Regions from separate parts of the Homo sapiens genome. Here all the other regions are linked to region 1. The links are contacts of gene promoters, found by promoter capture Hi-C in blood cells and fetal thymus (Javierre and others, 2016). All regions are on one chromosome and are shown on one strand. Each heading gives the region's core, a stretch centred on a gene start or on the middle of the fragment in contact. The rest is flanking DNA. Distances are from core to core; before and after follow the strand shown. Region 1 holds the start of FRY-AS1 (FRY antisense RNA 1). Region 2 has its middle 20 kb from the start of PDS5B-DT. Region 3 overlaps PDS5B (PDS5 cohesin associated factor B).

Evidence for each region. The method cuts DNA at HindIII sites, captures the fragments that hold promoters and counts their contacts. A CHiCAGO score of 5 or more calls a contact.
Region 2: a contact is called between a fragment that was not itself captured here and the fragment with the promoter of FRY-AS1 in region 1, in 1 of 17 cell types (endothelial precursors). The highest score is 5.7, in endothelial precursors.
Region 3: a contact is called between a fragment that was not itself captured here and the fragment with the promoter of FRY-AS1 in region 1, in 1 of 17 cell types (fetal thymus). The highest score is 5.1, in fetal thymus.

What each region holds. Positions count from the first base shown.
Region 1 is chr13:32,030,287-32,033,457 of GRCh38, forward strand. It overlaps FRY-AS1 (FRY antisense RNA 1), which reads right to left and starts at 1,353. Exons shown (of 4, transcript NR_103839.1): 1 at 1,165-1,353. FRY (FRY microtubule binding protein) reads left to right here and starts at 1,488. Exons shown (of 61, transcript NM_023037.3): 1 at 1,488-1,579. The coding sequence starts at 1,510. The HindIII fragment of the contact is 3,062 bases long and covers 505-3,171 here.
Region 2 is chr13:32,564,517-32,567,776 of GRCh38, forward strand. No RefSeq gene overlaps it. Among named protein-coding and RNA genes, the nearest start is that of PDS5B-DT, 20 kb to the right of the region's middle. The HindIII fragment of the contact is 410 bases long and covers 1,627-2,036 here.
Region 3 is chr13:32,641,646-32,644,496 of GRCh38, forward strand. All of the region lies in intron 1 of PDS5B (PDS5 cohesin associated factor B), which reads left to right. Among named protein-coding and RNA genes, the nearest start is that of PDS5B, 57 kb to the left of the region's middle. The HindIII fragment of the contact is 322 bases long and covers 1,210-1,531 here.

The DNA of each region.
Region 1 (3,171 bases), core at 103-2,602:
TTGTATTGATGAAGTATCTTAGGGCCTTTCAGAACATAGTTCTAGAAGTTTTATTTAGTGTTGAATTTTAAAAATTCTTTGTCCTAACAATAAAAGTACATTGTAGTCTTTCCCTTCCATTTTTAAAATGAACTGTTAATCTAGGAAGTCCTGTTTGTGTGTTGATTTGGGGAGTTAGCCCAACATTTGCTATGTTAAATACTTATTAACATGGTTTATTACTTTTTTCTGTTTTTTAGACAACATTAATCATGAATGTACTGGGACTTGGGAAGGATCCTGTGGTTTATGAGATAGTTGGCCAAATCCCACCTCTTCCAACATAACCTGTCATTATTAAAATATAATACTCTTATTTAATCCCCTGGTCAAGCTAAATGATAATGTGAAACAAAGCTAACCAAAATCAGGACACCTGATATCAAGAATTCATGAAATCAAGAGCCATTGTAGAGCAAGGAATCTAATGCTTTTGCTTCTTATCCTTTTCATACAAATAAAATAAGCTTCACTGGGCTTAGTGAGTCTTAGAAATGAGAGGTTTGAGAATAAGATCCATTGTGGAGTGTGTGACATTACAAAAACAAGCCAACTAAGCAGTGTGTACTGTCCCCTTAGAGTGCACACGTTCGGGCTCCGATGCCCCTTGAAAAGACTGCATTTCTGGGAGGGAAAAGTAAAAATGCAGATACCACCATGCGTGTGGAAGGCAGGGAAGAAAAAGCCCAGACAAGCGTCCTCTTGTTGAGTCTCTTTACTGCAACGAGGCTGACGGATGGGGTTTTTCAAAACGTCGCTGCAACCAGATGCAAGGCTGCAGCTTTGCTTACCGCAGCGTGCTGCAGTTGTGTTTATTTCAGGGACAGACACAAGGGGAAGCAGCAGCCAGAGCACACCCGGGCCGCTCACGGGAAGCCTTGCTGAAGAGAGAGGATCCGCAGAAGCTGGGAAATTCCTCCCGCAGCCTAGGCGGAGACTGAGCCGCGGCTCAGGTTGAGACAGTGGGCAGGGGCAGGGGGCGGCGCTCCCGGCCCATCCCTTAGCCCCGCGGCGGCCGTGTGGGCCGGAGGCTGCCTGCACCGCGTCAGGGAGGCCGGCCTAGAAACCCTCCCTCCCAGAAGAAAGCCGATCCCAGTTCAGGTGGGGTCTTCCTCGGTTGCGTACCTGGCTGGAGCCGAGCTGGTGGGCGGCCGGCAGCCGGCGTTTCTGGTGATGACAGCCCCGAAATGAAAGCAGCGCGGCCGCCGCCTCCGAGGGCTGCAGGGAGATCAGCGTCCAGCAAATAAGAAGCAAGTCCTGGACCCGGAGGAGGAGGAGCGGCCGAGCATCTCTCTCTGCTCCGCCGTGTCCTTTAGATGAGCACTCCCGGCCGGAGCCGGAGGTGGATCCGCAGAGCTGCCTCTGGGCGCCTGACCCCGCGCTGACATCACAACCTGTGACAGGCGCATCACGCCCGGTACCTGCTCCCGGCCGCTGCCCGTCCTCCCAGCCTCTTTGTATGCCGCAGACATGGCCAGCCAGCAGGATTCGGGCTTCTTTGAGATCAGTATCAAATATTTACTGAAATCCTGGAGTAATAGTGAGTAATAGAAAATAACCTTTTTGTTTGTTTGTTTGCTGGATGTTGCATAAGGCTGGAGACAGAAAATCTCAACTGGACACATATGTTTGTGAGCCGCGGAAGTTTTTCTTTTTTTCTTTTCTTTTCTTTTCTCTTTCTTTCTTTCTTTCTTTCTTTTTCTTTCTTTCTTTCTTTCTTTTTTTGCTCCCATCTGCTGTGAAAATCAAAATGTCAGAGACTGAACTAGCTTTCCTTAAGTGCAAAGGCTGCAATGGAATTACAGTAGATTGTGTTTGATTAAATTTTCAAGTGAGGCAGCCCTTCAGACTCTGGGGGAGCTCAGGATCAGGCATTCCTGGCTGCATTTCCTGCCTTGATGTTTATTTGATTTGTTCAGGCTTTCTCTAAATATTTTGTGAAGTGTGATTTAATCAAAGGGGTGTGGCAGGGTTTCAGAGTACTTTGTAATTGTTTTTTTAGGGTATTGTCTGAAGAAAGAAAAGTATTTAATAGTCCAAAACCTAGGACATCCTTTTTGTATATAGAGGCATCTGCAGATTTATTTCATCTCTCCCTCTTCCATGTGGATGATGTTCTGAATGCCATTTAATATTTGAATTTTTAAAAATCCTGATGTTTGCTATAGTCCAAATATTGTGCTTTTTTGAAACATAAACAAGTGAGGTTCTGACCCTAATTATTTATTAGGATAGCAGAATATGATGGCTCCTGAAGTTCCATTTCTGACCTACATAAGGATTTTAGCAATACGCTATTTCAAAAAGACAACCTCTAAGCTGCCGTGGATCTGGAATCAAATTAAAATGAGGCCTTCAGGTGATCAATGATGCCTTGTATTTTCCGAACTGTTTAAAAAGAAAGTCTTCTCTATTTCACTAACAGCCTTTGTACTTGCTTTGGATAAAAGATCAGCAGGTATTACTGATGCTTTATTGTTTTAAATAAAAAAATTTTTTCCCCGTGAAAATTTTAATATTGTATTATGTGCATACTGATTAACCTACCTGTGCTCAAAGAGCTAGTGATTAATTGTCTCCTACACAAATGACCTGTGGCCAAGATTGTTCTTATATAAACAAAACCTGGGCAGGAGAACCTGTGCTGCAATTGCTTTGAGGAAAAGAGCTAAAGTACCTTCAGCCTTAAGGTATTCAGGGATGTGCATCTCTAAATGATATCCATAGAAACCATTTTTTCCAGGTCATTTTGCACCACTGTATACACTATGGGGCTTGTCTGAAGCTGTTTTTCTACAAGTGGGAAGCCATTTGGGAGTAATACTGTTGCCCAAACAGCATTCTTTACTTGTCATAGCTATAAATCATTTAACTTGGACTCATTATTTTTATAATACTTTACACTCAAGGATGAATCTTCCTTTGTCTATCTGCTCTTTGATTAATGAAAAGAATTTGACATACAGTGTTCTTTATGGAGCAGTTTTCCAATAACTGAAAAAACTCACTTTTGAGTTGACATCAGTACGTGGTTTTTAAACATATTTGATTATTCCAAGACCAGACTGTTTTCTTCCATCAATTTTTGTCATTGCATCATTAAATAGAAAATTATGTTGTGACAATACTGAG
Region 2 (3,260 bases), core at 582-3,081, 530 kb after region 1:
CCTGTTCAAGGTACAAAAGTTACCAGAAGCAGACTTTCTTTATTAATAAGATAAAAATTTGTGTGGCTTTGTTATCAAGATAGTTTTGTTTTAAAAAGAGCTCCCTTAGGGTTCGCTGAAAATAATTGCATATATATATTAAATATATTAAATATATATATTAAATATATATATAAAATATATTATATATATTTAAATATATATATAAAATATATATATTTAAATATATATATAAAATATATATAATATATAATATAATAATATAATATAAAAATAATAATTATATATATAATATATCATATATTATATAAATATATATATAATATATACTATATATTATATAAATATATATTATATACTATATATTATATACTATATATTATATATAATATATAGTATATATTATATATAATATATATAAAATATTTATATATAAATATATATATATTATACATATATATATTTTTTTGAGATGGAGTCTCATTCTGTTGCCCAGGCTGGAGTGCAGTGGCGTGATCTTGGCTCACTGCAACCTCCGCCTCCCAGGTTCAAGCAATTCTCCTGCCTCAGCCTCTGGAGTAGCTGGGATCATAGGCACATGCCACCTGACTCAGCTAATTTTTGTATTTTTAGTAGAGATGGGGTTTGGCCAGGCTGGTCTCAAACTCCTAACCTCAGGTGATCTGCCCACCTTGGCCTCCCAAAGTGCTAGGATTACAGGCATGAGCCACTGTGCCCAGCCTTCTTCTTCCACGTATTTTTAGCATAGTTTTATTTGTGTGAACTATGGTACTCCATGTCCATTGTAAAGTCTTGATTTTCCTGTGAAGAGGGACTGAAAGATGAGTGGGGGAAATGATGCCTATTACCAGAAAGCGTACTTGTGAGGACATCTAATCCTGGACTGACCAATGCCTGGACTAAGTTGAGAAACCGACTTCTGCCTTAGGGGCCCCAATCCATCTCTGACGTTGTCACCTTTTTTGCTGTCACCACTGGTTAGGATTCCCCCTCACTTCTGTCTTACTTCTCTGCTTAGGATTTTCTCACACTGTCACTTTCAGAAACAAGTACACTAAGCACAATAAGGAAATAAAAGTATCATTTTATTATTTACAAAATTCCTCCTGGTGTCATCTTGGGAACAATGCAATGCAAGTCATGCAGGCAGACAAATGAACTGGGGCTTTGCTTATGACCCATTCTAAGTTGACTGTAGTTTTTTTTTTTTCCCAAATGCCAGTTTCTAGCATAAACAATGTGATATCAGTGTGTGTGTTTGTTTAAATCTACACTCTAAGACTGGTTTGTGTCCTAATTAGGAATATGTGTTTCAGCAATAGTTAGCTAACATTTAATGAAAGGCCACATTCCTGTCTCAAAAAACAAAAAAACAAAAAAACAAAAAAAGGCCAAATTCCAAAGGTGACTACAACATCCACTTTAGCTCTGATCAACACAGAGTTTTGTAATTAGCATTTGGGATGCTAGAAATAGGTTTTGTTGATGAAATTAGTGGTGTTCAAGATGTAAGTGTAGATATATATAGAAAGTTGTGTCAATAAGCAGAAATACAGAAACAATCCTCACCTTTGCATTAAAAGGGTCATCTTTGGAGTGGTATGAAGCTTTATTCTGATAAAGTTTGTATTCCACCCCTATATTAGTCCATTCTCACATTGCTATACAGAACTACCTTAGACTGGGTAATTTAATTCCATTCCATGAAATAAAATTATAAAAAGTTTTAAGGCATAAGTTAATTTTCTCACTCAACCCCCCATAAAGAAAAAAGGTTTAACTGACTCACAGTTCTGCAGACTGTATAGGAAGCATGGCTGGGAGGCCTCAGGAAATTTACAATCCTGGCAGAAGGAGAAGGGGAAGCAGGCATGTCTTACATGGCTGAAGAAGGAGGAAAAGGGCGAAGGGGGAGGTGCTACACACGTTTAAACAACCAGATCTCATGAGAACTCACTCACTATCAGAAGAAAATAAGGGGAAATCCAACCCCATGATCCAGTCACCTCCCACTAAGCTTCTCCTTCAACATTGGGGATGACAACTCAACATGAGATTTGGGCAGGGACACAAACCCAAACCATATCAGCCACTAATTTGGAGAATTCCTATTGCCTGTCATCTATAAAGTAACTGAATTCATCTCTGTTGTGTTGGTTACAATGAACTTTTCGTGCAAGTCGTGATGAGCACATTTGAAGGACAAAGTTGGGCCTTCATTGAGCTTACAAAACAAGTTTGTAATTTTTGTTTCTCTGTTTCATGCCAGTTTGCTAACAAATGTCTGCATATGTAGCAGAATTTAGTCTGAGATTTGCTCTCTTTATAAATCCGTTAGCAAAGTTGTGGCTAAGATCCTTACATCCCTCCTATACCCCTAAATATATATGGCTACTTATGGCAAAAAAGAACTCAGTAATTGCAAATGGCCAAATTGAGTTGAGTTCATTATTTTATTTTATTTTTTTAAACAGAGTCTTGCTCTGTCGCCCAGGCCGGGGTGCAGTGGCGCAACTGACTGCAACCTCTGCCTCCTGGGTTCAAGCAATTCTCCTGCCTCAGCCTCCTGAGTAGCTGGGATTACAGGCGCCCACCACCGCACCCAGCTAATTTTTATATTTTCGGTAGAGATGGGGTTTCACTATGTTGGTCAGGCTGGTCTTGAACTCCTGACCTCATGATCCACCTGTCTCGGCCTCTGAAAGTGCTGGGATTACAGGCGTGAGCCACCGTACCCAGACTTGCTTGGGTCCATTCTTAACACCTATCTATCAGAATGGAACAAGGGCTAGAAGAAACGACATGAACTTTAACCATGGGCCTTGCTTCAAAGGTACAACCAAGTCATCAATAAGAGCAAATGATTACCAGAAAGTGATGACAACCCAGGAGAAAACGATCTTATCAATTTTGAGTGTGTAACCACTAGGGGTACAATGGCTAAAGATAAGAACTATATATATGATATAAAGAAAAGATGGTTTCAAAGTATTGGTAAACTTTTATTTATTTATTTATTTTGAGGTGGAGTTTCTCTCTTGTTGCCCAGGCTGGAGTATAATGGCTCAATCTCAGCTCACTGCAACCTCCACCTCTCGTGTTCAAGAGATTCCCTTGCCTCCGCCTCCTGTGTAGCTGGAATTACAGGCATGCGCCACCACGCCTGGCTAACTTTGTATGTTTAGTAGAGATGGGGTTTCTCCATGTTGGTCTAGCTGGTCTCGAACTCCTGACCTCAG
Region 3 (2,851 bases), core at 121-2,620, 610 kb after region 1:
TCTTTATCTCCCCTGTGGGCTCCCACCACCCCAATCACTATAGGTATTTCATTAAGGTTTAGTGTTGGTATCTCAGCTCACCCTACTCATTTTCTTTACTCATCTTGTAAACCCATAAAGCATGAACAATAAATTGTTCTAAAAATATTTTCTCATTTTACACTTTTTTTCTAGAACTTTAGATGTATAATCTACAGTTGCCTTCTAGAGCAAACTTTATTTTTCCCAAGACTTAATCTCTCTCTCTGGGTTTTCCCCCATCTCCATTACAACGAGGGCAGAGCTCTTTCTTGTACATTTGCTCATCATTGTATTCCTAGTACTTAGTGTATTGCACCAAGCAAATTCTCAATAAATATTTAAATAAATGGCCTTCTAGGAACAAAGGTTTCGAATCTTATAATCATGTTCTGCTTCTCTGGTATAATCATTCGTAAGTCGTTGAATCAGTTTTCTTGTTTTGTAGTCATTGCCTACAGTCAGTTCCTCATTACTTCTTTCTTGGAATTTTGCAGTAGTTTTCTAACTTGTTTTAATTTCTCCTGTGTCTAGCTCTACTTTTTGCTGTAACCATAATTTCTTCGAATAGTTCTGGTCGTTCATTCATTCATTATTTCCTGAGTGCCTACTACTGATAGTAGCTATTTGCGATAGATGCTAGCAGATAGATGCTAGCATAAATGTTATATGCTACTTTTCTTAAGGAGCTTACAGTCTAGTGGGAGAGACAAAGATAGAAATAAGTACAATAGATACAATGTGATAATTGCTAATTGTAGTAGGTTCAAAGTGTGACTAGCTGTAGGGGAGGAGCCTAGCTCTGCCTGGTTGAGGTCAGAAAAAGTTAAAATGAGACTTTAAGGTCTATAGAGTTTGCTTAGTAGACAAGGGCCAGTATGTTTTACTCATAGGAAAAACAACCTGTGTATATTCACAGAGGTGTTTCAAACCTCTCCTTACAATGCTGTTCATAAGACTGAAGTGCAAATTGAGTAACCTCCCTCTTTGTTGTCTCTTTATTTTTTCCGTCTTAGCTCCCTTTACTTCCTTCCACCTTTTCCTTCAGTCATACTTCTGGTCCAGTAACTGAAATTTGCTCTCTGAGATTTATTCAGAATGTTTTTTTCTGTCTTTTTATTCTGTGTATTATTACCACTTTACCCCTGTCCACTTACAAAAGTGGTTTTTCTTTCAGTCTTATTTTTTCCAAGCTTGTTGTTTATTTCTGTTAGGATAATTTCAGAATCAACTGTGATTCACTTATTTAGGGGAATGTCTGTTTCTCTTCATGGATTTTGAGACCCATTTTACGTGTTTTGCTCTGTAGTTTCTGCTGTTGTGTTCTGCATATGAGGTGCTTGATAAATTTTTGGTTACATGGATGAGTATATTTTACAAGGTCACTCTGTCTACATTGTATAGCTGTGGTCTGTGGCCATATTCATGTATTTGTTTTTATGAATCATGAACAGCTTTTGTCTCTGAAATAAGGCAGAGAGACTTTCTTCCACTCCAGACTCAGTGGAAGAGAAGCTTATCACATTTATCAATCCATTTATCAATCTTTCCCTGGAGTGCTTTGTCCTAGGCATTGGCTGAGTATCTTCTTTGGTTGAAGGAATGTAACTATGAACTTGGTTCTTGCTAGTGTTTTTCCTAACCTGAAGTCATGCAGCTATTCTCTTTTATCATATTCTAAAAGCTTTTAACACTTTGCCTTTATATTTAAGTTGTTACTGTACCTCGAATTCATTTTGTATATGGTGTGAAATATAGGTACAGTGTCCTTTTTAAAAAACTTAGATATGAAAGTGTCTTCAGAACTTTTTATTGTATTCTCTCTGCTCTTTCCTGTTATCGCTACCACTTTTTTTCATATACAGTTGCGTACCACACAACTTTTCTGTCAGTGATGGACTGCATATATGATGGTGGTTCCATAAGCTTATAATACTGTATTTGTACTGTATCTTTTCTATGTTTAGATACATTTAGATACACAGATACTTACCATTGTGTTACGGTTGTGTACAGTATTCAGTACAGTAACATACTGTACAGGTTTGTAGCCTAGAAGCAATAGGCTATACCATATAGCCTAGGTATGTAGTAGTCTGTTCCATTTAGGTTTGTGTAAGTACACTGTATGATGTTTGCACAACAATAAAATTCCCCAACAACGTATTTATTAGAATGTATCCCATCATTAAGTGATGTATGACTATGCACAGGAGGAACACAGATTTTTGGATGTTAATCTTGTATCCTGGAACGTCGATGAACTAGTAGTTTATTTTTTGTAGATTCCTTTGGCATCTTCTGTGTAGATAATCATGTTGTCTGGATGTAGGGACAGTTTCTTTTCCAATATGTATGCTTTTTATTTTCTGTTTCTTTGTGTGCTGCCTAGGGCTTCTAGCATTATATTGAATAAAAGTGCTGGGAGTAGACATCATTTCTTTGTTTCTGATCTTAAAGGGGAAGCATTTAGTCTTTTACCATTAAGTATTTGTGTTACCTGTTGTTACCTGTTGGTGACTTATGCTTGTTATGGATGTCCCTGACTTATGGTGGTTCAACTTAGGACAATTTTTTGACTTTATGATGGTGTGAAGGCAATACACATTTGGTATGTTTCTTGACATATGATAGAAATGCACTTTTGGCTTAACTATATTTTAAATTTACAATGGGTTTATTGGGACGTAACCTTATTGTAAGTTGAGGAACATCTCTATATTGATGTTTTTTACTTTTCATCCTTGCTAAACTCAGTCTTAATAATTCACATGTTTTATCTGTAAATCCTTTTGAAGTTTTTATGTATGTAAACATATCATCTGTGAATAAC